Regions from separate parts of the Homo sapiens genome. Here region 2 is linked to region 1. Evidence: promoter capture Hi-C in 16 types of primary human blood cells and fetal thymus (Javierre and others, 2016). All regions are on one chromosome and are shown on one strand. Each heading gives the region's core, a stretch centred on a gene start or on the middle of the fragment in contact. The rest is flanking DNA. Distances are from core to core; before and after follow the strand shown.

What was found. The method cuts DNA at HindIII sites, captures the fragments that hold promoters and counts their contacts. A CHiCAGO score of 5 or more calls a contact.
Region 2: a contact is called between a fragment that was not itself captured here and the fragment with the promoter of FHL3 in region 1, in 1 of 17 cell types (erythroblasts). The highest score is 5.1, in erythroblasts.

Annotation. Positions count from the first base shown.
Region 1 is chr1:38,002,998-38,007,693 of GRCh38, forward strand. FHL3 (four and a half LIM domains 3) reads right to left here and starts at 2,517. Exons shown (of 6, transcript NM_004468.5): 1 at 2,360-2,517. RefSeq lists an enhancer at 527-1,335 and silencers at 2,188-2,547, 2,578-2,637. The HindIII fragment of the contact is 9,980 bases long and covers 539-4,696 here.
Region 2 is chr1:39,004,044-39,008,739 of GRCh38, forward strand. It overlaps AKIRIN1 (akirin 1), which reads left to right. Exons shown (of 5, transcript NM_024595.3): 5 at 2-2,016. The coding sequence ends at 12. Among named protein-coding and RNA genes, the nearest start is that of AKIRIN1, 15 kb to the left of the region's middle. The HindIII fragment of the contact is 952 bases long and covers 1,807-2,758 here.

The DNA of each region.
Region 1 (4,696 bases), core at 1,267-3,766:
AAATACAAAAATTAACTAGGCATGGTGGCGGGCGCCTGTAAGCCCAGCTACTCAGGAGGCTGAGGCAGGAGAATTGCTTGAACCGAGGAGGTGAAGGTTGCAGTGAGCCAAGATCATGTCATTACACTCCAGCCTGGGCTACAACAGCAAAACTCTGTCTCAAAACAAAACAAAACAACAACAAAAAAAACAACTCTGGGCTCAAGCAAACCACCTGCCTCAGCCTCCTGAGTAGATGGGACTACAGCCATGTGCCACCATGCCCAGCTAGGTTTTTCTATTTTTTGTAGAGATGGGGTTCTCACTATGTTGCCCAGGGTGGTCTTGAACTCCTGGCTTCAAGTGATCCTCTGGCCTCAGCCTTCCAAAGTGCTGGGGTTACAGGCGTGAGCCACTGTGCCCAGCCTGGTCTGAAATTTGACCTGGACATTCTCAGCATAGGCCCAGGGAGAGAATAGGGGGCCCCAGGCCCATGGGGCTTGCTGAGGACACCAGTGGGGAAAGTGGTCGCTTCAGTCCGGTCAGCCTGACTCTAGTAAGCTTAACTCTTGAGATCTCTCATGCAGGTCCACGGATGTAGACACCTGCATGCTGCTTTGCCACTCACAAAGTCCATGCCCACCACAATCTCATCAGATCTCACAAAAGGCAGGCAGGACAGAGTATCATCCCCATTTTACAGCTGAGCACAAGGAGGCCAGGAATAGAGCAGGTTCATGCCCAAGGTCCCGATCAGGACCCAGGTCCCCTGCCTCCCAGCCCAGAGCTCTTCCCTCTCCCTAAAAATGCTGCCCTGGTGATGAAGCGGATGGTGACATGGGGGTGGTCAGTTTTTAAGGGCAGGGGAACAGGAGATGCACCAGAGCCTGGCTCTTCTCCTCAGCTGCTAGCCCTGTGATTGGAAGACACCCAGAAGCCTTTCCAATGCCCCATGCCAACCATTCAATCCTTCTGCCCCCACCCCCAACATGCCCACTGTCCAGGAGGACCCTGGCCAGGTCCCACAGCTGTGAGTCAGGATCAGAACAGACCCCTCCCCCACCTTCTAGAAGCTGACAGGAGACTTAAGGGGAGAAATCCAACTCCCTCAACCCTCACCCTCTGCTACCGGGCACCAACCCCAAGCTCTGCTCTCCCCCATGTGGCCTGGAAGTCAGAGAAGTTTAGGGAAGGGGGTTGGGGAGCAAGATCCCGCAGCTGCTCTGGGGACATGAGAGGAACAGTTCATTCACCCTGGGTCCCCCAGGGCTGAGGCAGCCCATCCAAGATTTGAGTTCAAAAATAAGTTGGGGCTGTCTTGGTGGCTGTGTGTGTGCGTGGGGCTCTTCTTGATCTCGAACTTACTGTCTCAGGGCCTCTGCCTCATGGGGGATCGGTAGGCTCAGAGTTTCTGTTTCCCCACAGCCTCACCTCCCAATGGTTCAGGCCCGGGTAAGTCAGGGGCTGTCCTGGAAGCTGTCAGACCACCTAGGTCTCTCTGCCCCCACTTAGTCTCAGTTTCTGGTGTCTGTCTCTGCTTCACTCAGCATCTCTGTGTCTGGGCACACTTCAGTCTCTGTCTTTAGGTTTTGGACGGCTCTGTATCTTGACTGGCTGTCCCCCAGGGGGCCCATGCCTCTGTGGATCTCAAGTCTTGGTCTCTTCTTGTCTACATGGCTGAATGTCTCAATCCCCACCACCTCCCTTTCTCTGTCTCTGCATCCAAGTCTCTTTCGCCACCTCTGCACGCCTGAATGTCTCTGTCTCTAGTCTCTGAGCGTCTCTGCAGGCCTCAGAGAGCAGATTCAGCATGAGGCCAATGACGCCCAAGCCTCAGGGCACCTCCAAGGCCCGGGGAAGGGCCCTAGGGAATGTGTTCGCTGGGGTCCCACGTATGCTTTTTCTGAAAATGCTCCACAAAGCCTAGGACGGCCCCCATGCCTCGGGTCTGTCCACCAGTAACTCTGTACGCCCGGTGTGTCCTTGTTTCAGTGGTCTCGGTAGCCTCCTGTGCCTCGAGTCCCTGCCTGTCTCGGTCTCTCGCTCCACCGGGCTTTCCGAGAACCTCAGTTTCTCCAGCGCTTCTGGTCGGTCGGTCTGTCTGTCTCTCTCCGGCTTTTCTATTTCAAACTTAGCCCCCTCCCCCGCCCAACTCTCGCTGCCGCCCCCGCCCCCGCCCCGCCCGATAGCCCGGAGGGGTCCAGTCCCGGCGGGCGCTGTCCCGGGCTCGGCGTGCCCCGGGCACCCGTGGCCAGAGCCCGGCGGGTACAGGGGACCGGGGCCGCGGCTGGCCTCAGCCCTCCGCGGGTCCCTTCGCTCCCCGGCCTGGGCGCGGGGGCGGACCGCCAGGGCTGGGAGCCGGGGTCGGCGGGGCGCTCACCTCGAAGCGGGCGGCGGGAGCGGGGAGCGCGCGGCGCAGGCGGGGCCGGGAACCGGGCGCCGCGTCCCTCGGCGGCTCCTACCTGCGGGCCGGGCCAAGCGGGGGCCGAGCGAGCTGCCGGCGAGGCTGCCGACTGCAGACGGACCGTGTGGGCGAGTGGGAGCGCGGCCCCAACCCCTCCCCGAGGAAGTGAGCGCGGGCCCGCCCCGCCCGGACCCCGCCCCCGGCCCCCCAGCCCGCCGCGGGGGCCAGACCCCGCCCCCACCTCCCTTTCGGCCGCCAGTCGGCCCGGCCCCCTCCTCCCGCCCGGCCTAACCTGGCTCTCCCAACCTTCAAGCGGCCGGGACCCCGCCCCTGTCCCCTCCCCGCAGCCTCTGTTCTCCTCCCCTCCCACCCCCCATCCCCAGCTGCCAGAGGGAGACTGCTGTATTCCATCTCAGGCCGGCGACACGAGACCCCGCAGACCATGGTCCACTGGGGGAGTCCTCTGGCCTCCTCGGATCCCCCCACCCCTTCACCTTACCCCAGGGGTGACACTCAGCCCGGCCTTAATCCAGCCTGGAGGAGGACGTTTTGACTCTGCTGTCATGAGCCTGTCAGCGGGCACCAAGGTGTTCTCTGAAAACATGGGACGAAGAGAGGACCCCTCCCCACCATAGGGCCTTGACCTCCAAAGGGTTTTATTCCACAACTTTGAGTAGCAAAAACAGGGGTAACCACCTCCCCACTTCCAGCAGCCTCCTGACACTGAGAAGTCCTGCCTTGCCTGGGTTTCCGCAGTGCCCAGGAATAGTTTTGACCTTTGAGGCCCGGGGGAGACCCTAATCCTCGGCCCCATGATCTTTGGGCTTCTAGGGTGGGGTGTGAGGAGTGTGAGAGGATGGGGCACCTCAGGGGTGGTGGAGGAGAGGGGAGGGGACCTCTGCGGTGTCTGAGCCTCTGGCTTCCTCCCTGTGTCCGTGAGGGAGGACTGGCGCCTGCTAGGGACACGAGGCCCCTCCAGGTCCTTAAGGCCACCCCCCCTGGGATCCTCAGGCTTGTCACTAGGAATAAATAGCCTCAGTCTGGAAGAGGTGGGGGAGGGAGGGAGGCAGGAGGCTCTACTGTGCTGTTTGTGGAAACAAGAGACAACAAATCAACCCCGGAATAACCTTAGCATCTAGAGTGAAGATTCAGGTGCCCACAGAGGCCTCCCCACACCCCAGGCTGGGTGTAGCAGAGCTCTCACGGAGGAACTAACACCCTCCCAGGCTGGGGCTCCTGAGAACCTTTCCGTCCCATCTCTGCATCATGCCTGGGTTCCTGGGTCCCAAGTCACCCACCAGGTCTGGTTTCCTTTCAAAATTAAATCATTGCTTGCTTATTATTGCTGTTGTTGCCTAAATGGTAAGAGCCATGAAGGCAGGGCTCCGTTTTGTTCCCCACTGCCTTCTCAGTACTTACTCCAATATCCGGCACATAATAAACATCTGATGAATGAATGGATACCAGACACTGCTTCAGTATGTATGCCCCTCTAACATCCTCGGTTTGGATCACAGGCACCTGCTATCTGGAGTCCAGGCAGTGAGCATCCAGCCCATGGATGGGGCCTTTTTCTGGGATTTTTTTTTTTTTTTTTTTTTTTTTTTTTTTTGAGATGGAGGCTTGCTCTGTTGCCCAGGCCGGAGTGCAGTGGCGCACTCTCCGCTCACTACAACCTCCACCTCCCAGGTTCAAGCGATTCTTCTGCCTCAGCCTCCCAAGTAGCTGGGACTGCAGGTGTGCACCACCACGCCCGGCTAAATTTTTTTTTTGTATTTTTAGTAGAGACGGGGTTTCACCATCTTGGCCAGGCTGGTCTCAAACTCCTGACCTCAAGATCTGATCTGCCTGCCCCAGCCTCCCAAAGTGCTGGGACCACAGGCATGAGTGACCATGCCCAGCCTCTCTGGGATGTATCTTGCAGGTGTAAGAGACTCCCAGCCCAGGGGAGTGCAGTGAAGACTACTCAGCCTTGGTGGAGTGGGTACCAAGAGGAGGTCAGCTCTGGGGGACGGGAGGGCAAAGGTGGGGAGCCTTCAGAAAGCAAGGGGTTATGAGTGAGTACAGAAGGGGCCTGATAAAAGGCAGAGTATTGGAATCTCTGTTCTTGATGCATGGCTCTAATCTCTCCTAAATAGCCTTAATGAGAGCCAGTACTTCCTGAGTTCTTTCTTTGCACCAGTCCTGAACACTTTACATATATTGACATACCTGATTATTCAATAACTTTATTAAATATATGTGCATCTATATTTGTTTGTTTTTGAGACAGTGTGTTGCTCTGTCACCCAGGCTGGAGTGCAGTGGTGTAAT
Region 2 (4,696 bases), core at 1,033-3,532, 1.0 Mb after region 1:
GATGTGTCATGAAGCTTTGTCACATATCTGGGTACCAGGTTTGACCTCAAGAGATGGCTGCTGTACACTTTTTGCAACTGGTTTGATGTCACATTTCAGCTCCAACTTTGCATCCTGAGAACACTTAAACGTTTCTGCAGGTCCATTTTATACAACTTGAAAGACCGTAAAACTTTCTGGTTGCCACAAGCATATCTTTCTTTTCTGCTCATCCAATAAACAGCTGTGCCCTACTGTGATAGATTTTCCAAACAAAAATACCTGGAGCAGCAGTTTAGCAAAATATGCCTTCAGTGGCATTCAACAAATGGAGTTTCCCCAAGCACAGTTCTGTAAGAAGTGCGTGTGAGAGTGTGTGTATATGTGTGTATGTGTATTTTAAGTTATTATTTGTATTGTGCAAAAATTTTTTTTTGATCTTGGGGATTCTGGCTGTGAATTTGGTGCACGACAATTATGGTAAAAAAACATTTGCTTGGTCTAAAGAAGATCATTAATGTTTTGTGACCATACAAGTTGTAACAGTGGATTGTTTTTATGTGTAGGTATTGTTAAATACAGGGACTGTTTCCAGGCACAGAATATGAATCGTAAGTTAGGATGGACATTAGATGTGATTATGATGATAAAGCGAAGGTCTGCGGTCCTATATCTACAGACACGTGGTGAGAAATTAGAACAAACTGGAGACGGGCCATTGACACATGGACTCTGCCTGGGCATGTTAGGTTAATTCTTTGACTCCAAGCCTTAAAATACTCACATGGAGTCAGCGCTCACCTCATTCACACAATTATCATAGAGCTCCCTGGACACTGAACCTCTAAAGGGAAAAGGTCTACCCTGGAGCCAGGAGCATCAGGGTTGGCTTGGGAGCATGAGAGGTGAGCCCAGGGCTAGGCCTGGGCCAGGCCCCGGCAGCACTGCTACTTGGGAGGAGCCACTTCACCTTTGTATTAGTTATTAAAAAATATAATTTGGGCTGGGCGCAGTGGCTCACGCCTGTAATCCCAGCACTTTGGGAGTCCGAGGCATGCGGATCACTTGAGGTCAGGAGTTCGAGACCACCCTGGCCAATATGGTGAAACCCCATCTCTACTAAAAATACAACAAAGTTAGCCGGGCGTGGTGGCAGGCGTCTGTAATCCCAGCTGCTTGGGAGGCTGAGGCAGGAGAATCACTTGAACCCTGGAGGTGGCGGTTGCAGTGAGCACAGATCATGCCACTGCACTCCAGCCTGGGCAACAAAACGAGACTTCGTCTCAAAAAAAAAAAAAAAACATAGAATTTGGATCCTTTGGTCGGGTTCTCCCAAATTCTTTTGAGGTGTCCATGGTCAACTGCTTCAGCTTTGTTTTGGCAACCCCCTGCCCGAAGTCGCATATAGGCTGTTCTTCACCTTGTTTCCAAGGCTGAGGAACAGAAAGTAGCCTCTGTTTTGAGGAGGTGGAAGTTAAGTATACATTTATTTTTTACTGTGACTTGTTCAGGACCACATTTTACAAAATGCCTTGTTTCCTTCATTGTTTCTGGAAAGGAAAGTTCTATTAATATTGTTTTACTTTGAATATAGAATAGTTTTTTTAATTAGGGCTTATTTTGAAAAATTCTGAGTTTAATTCAAATGTATGCCAATACCTTCCAAAGTAAGGTAATATTCAGAGACAGTTGTTGTGATCAGATGGCTTAGAGAAATTTCTGGAATATTCACATTCGAAGATTCCTTATTAATGAATGTCTTTGACTTAAATCTAACCAAAAACTGCAACATTATTCTTTGTACATTTTCATTATATAGTGTTAACAAGCTTAGTTGCAAACAAATAAAATACTTAAGCTATTTGTTTACCTTGCCTTCTTAATACTGTGATAATGTTTATTAATTCAAATAACTTATGTGAGAGCTGCTATAACCATTTCCCCAGTTCAACATTGCATTGAAAATTTATGGACCTTTAAAAAAAAAAGCCCAACAGTGATTTTTTTTTAATAATTAAAGAATGATTTTACTTTGTATTTGAAGGGTGATTTGTTTCATCTCTTCTTTTTTCAGGGTAGTCACTTGTTCCTAAAAGAGGAACATAGCAGTGGCTGTAATGGGAATGGCTCTGCAGTGGGCTAGTCACACCAAAATAAAGAAAGGGCAGCTGTGGGAGCCATCAGAAGCTGTGGAGGCTGGACTGGTAATGGGGAATGCTGCCCCACTGAAGTCTTGTTTTAGAGATCAGTGTGATGTGCTCACTTAACTATAAAGTGTCAGTCCCCATTCCAACTAAGTGGCTCCTGGCTGGGAAGTAGAGTAGGTTTCTCTAAGGAAAATGACACCTGCTCACCACCCGCCCCACTATACCACATTGTTGTTAGGCTATCATATAATGATAAGGTAGCCCTCTGAGGCCACAAGGTAAGACCAAACCACCAGGGCTGGGTTTTGGGATCCCCTCTAAAGAGACCACACATGTTTGTTTAGTGTTTATAATCTAGAGAAAAGACAACTGGGACAGAAAATGGGGACCTGGAAGGTAGGTCTCAGACTGGTGAATGAATTTTTCCCTAGACCTTGATTTCCAGAGCTTGAATTTAAGGGCACTCCCAGGTAGAGAAATGTCTTTGTCCCATGGAAATTATAGACCAAGGAAGACGTCAACCTATAAAAACGTATAAGGGTTTCTCAGGAACAGTGTTTTCAGAATATCTGGTGAGCTAGCTAATTTTTTTCTCTATTTTAATTCCAGTTATTATCCTTGATAAAGTCTTAAGCTTAAGAGGAAAAAGTAAGTGTCCATCCTTGGGTCAGAAGTTAAAAGGAAGATCAGAGCTCCTAAGGCAGTGATAATTGTTAAGATCTTCCAAAGGGGAAGACCATCAGAGAGTACAAGAATTTAAGCCAGCGGGTGGCGCACGCCTGTAATCCCAGCACTTTGGAAGGCTGAGGGGCAGATCACCCGAGGTCTGGAGTTTGAGACCAGCTTGACCAACATGGTGAAACCCCATCTCTACTAAAATACAAAAATTAGCTGGGCGTAGTGGCGGGCGCCTGTAATCTCAGCTACTTGGAAGGCTGAGGCGGGAGAATCAACCTGAAACCATGAGGCGGAGGTTGCAGTGAGCCGAGATTGTGCCATTGCACTCCAGCCTGGCAACAGAGTTAAGACTATGTCTCAAAAAAAAAAAAGGATTTAAGCCAATCTTTCAAACCTGGTGAATCTTCTTACCATGGAGGATTGGTTGGCTAGCATAGTAAAGGACTGACTGCGTGGTTGTAGCTCTGTAGTTTGGTTTCTTCTCTGCCACTAATTTGGTTATGTCAGCCTTGCCAGATTACTAAACTTGCTGAAACATGGCTTGCTTACCTGTAAAATCGAGGTTAATAGTAGGTTCATATTGGGTTTTGTTTTCAAATGCAAGAAATCATCCATGTAAAGAAAGTATTTAGCACAGCTTAGGGCATAGACTATGCACTTTACAATGTTAGAGCAGGTTTCTTTATAGTAGTCTTCGTCAGACCTGGAGACCCAAACTTTTGTGTCCCAAGTAGTGATTCTCAGCTTTCCAATATGAATAGCCCCTTGTTAACATAAAGATCTCACTTTTTCTTATTAGAATTTGTACCTTTGTTTGATTAAGGAAATAAAAGATGAATGACAAATGAATTTGGTAATGCCTTTCTGTGAATCTGTATTCAGTATGTTTTGTATGTTAATATAGCAGGGTCATACAAAAACTGGCCTATTTTTGTAAAGTTTTGTAGAAACACTGCTACACCTATTCATTTGTCTGTGGCAGTTTTCACACTAACTCCAGACTTGAGTAGAGTAGGTGCTACAAAGACCAAAGCATGGGCCACAGAGCTGAAAATACTTACTCTGTGTCCTTTTACAGAAAAGTGTGCTGGCCTTTGCACTAAAGCATGAAGAAACATTTGGGAAAAAGCACACAGGCTGGGCACGGTGGCCCATGCCTGTAATCCCAGCACTTTGGGAGGCCGAGGCGGGCAGATCACCTGAGAATGGGAGTTCAAGACCAGCCTGGCCAACATGGAGAAATCCCATCTCTACTAAAAATGCAAAATTAGCCGGGCGTGGTGGTGCATTCCTGTAATCCCAGCTACTTGGAAGGCTGAGGCAGGAGAATCACTTGAACTTGGGAGGTGGAGGTTGAGGTGAGCCGAGATCACACCATTGCACTCCAGCCTGGGCAACAAGAGCAAAACTCTGTCTCAATTAAAAAAAAGAAAAAAGAGCAACAAACAAGGCAAAGTTACTTCATTTATAATCCTTGTTGCATCATGAGTTGGTCAACACTTACCCTAATTTGTCATTCTTAAGGCTGTTATACCTTAAGTTGAGGTGTGATGAAAATACCCTTTTTGCTTACAAATAAAAACTGATTGCCAAAGTAAGTATGTCACAGAAAAAGCTATTGAACAACTGTTTAGAGCAATGATTCTCAAGGATGGGGACACAGAGCATACTATTTGGGGAGGGAAAAAGATTTGAAATGACCAATTTTATTTCAAGCATTTTTAATTTTGGAATTTTAGGTACAAAAATGGGTGTGAGAATTTTGTTTAACAGAAAATAGCATGGCTTTAAAATAGTTTGTAAAATACTGTTCTTAAGGAACAGAGTGTAATAGTGCCCATGGGCTATTAAAAAGGAACAGAAACTTCTCTACTACTCTGGAGTCCTTTGTT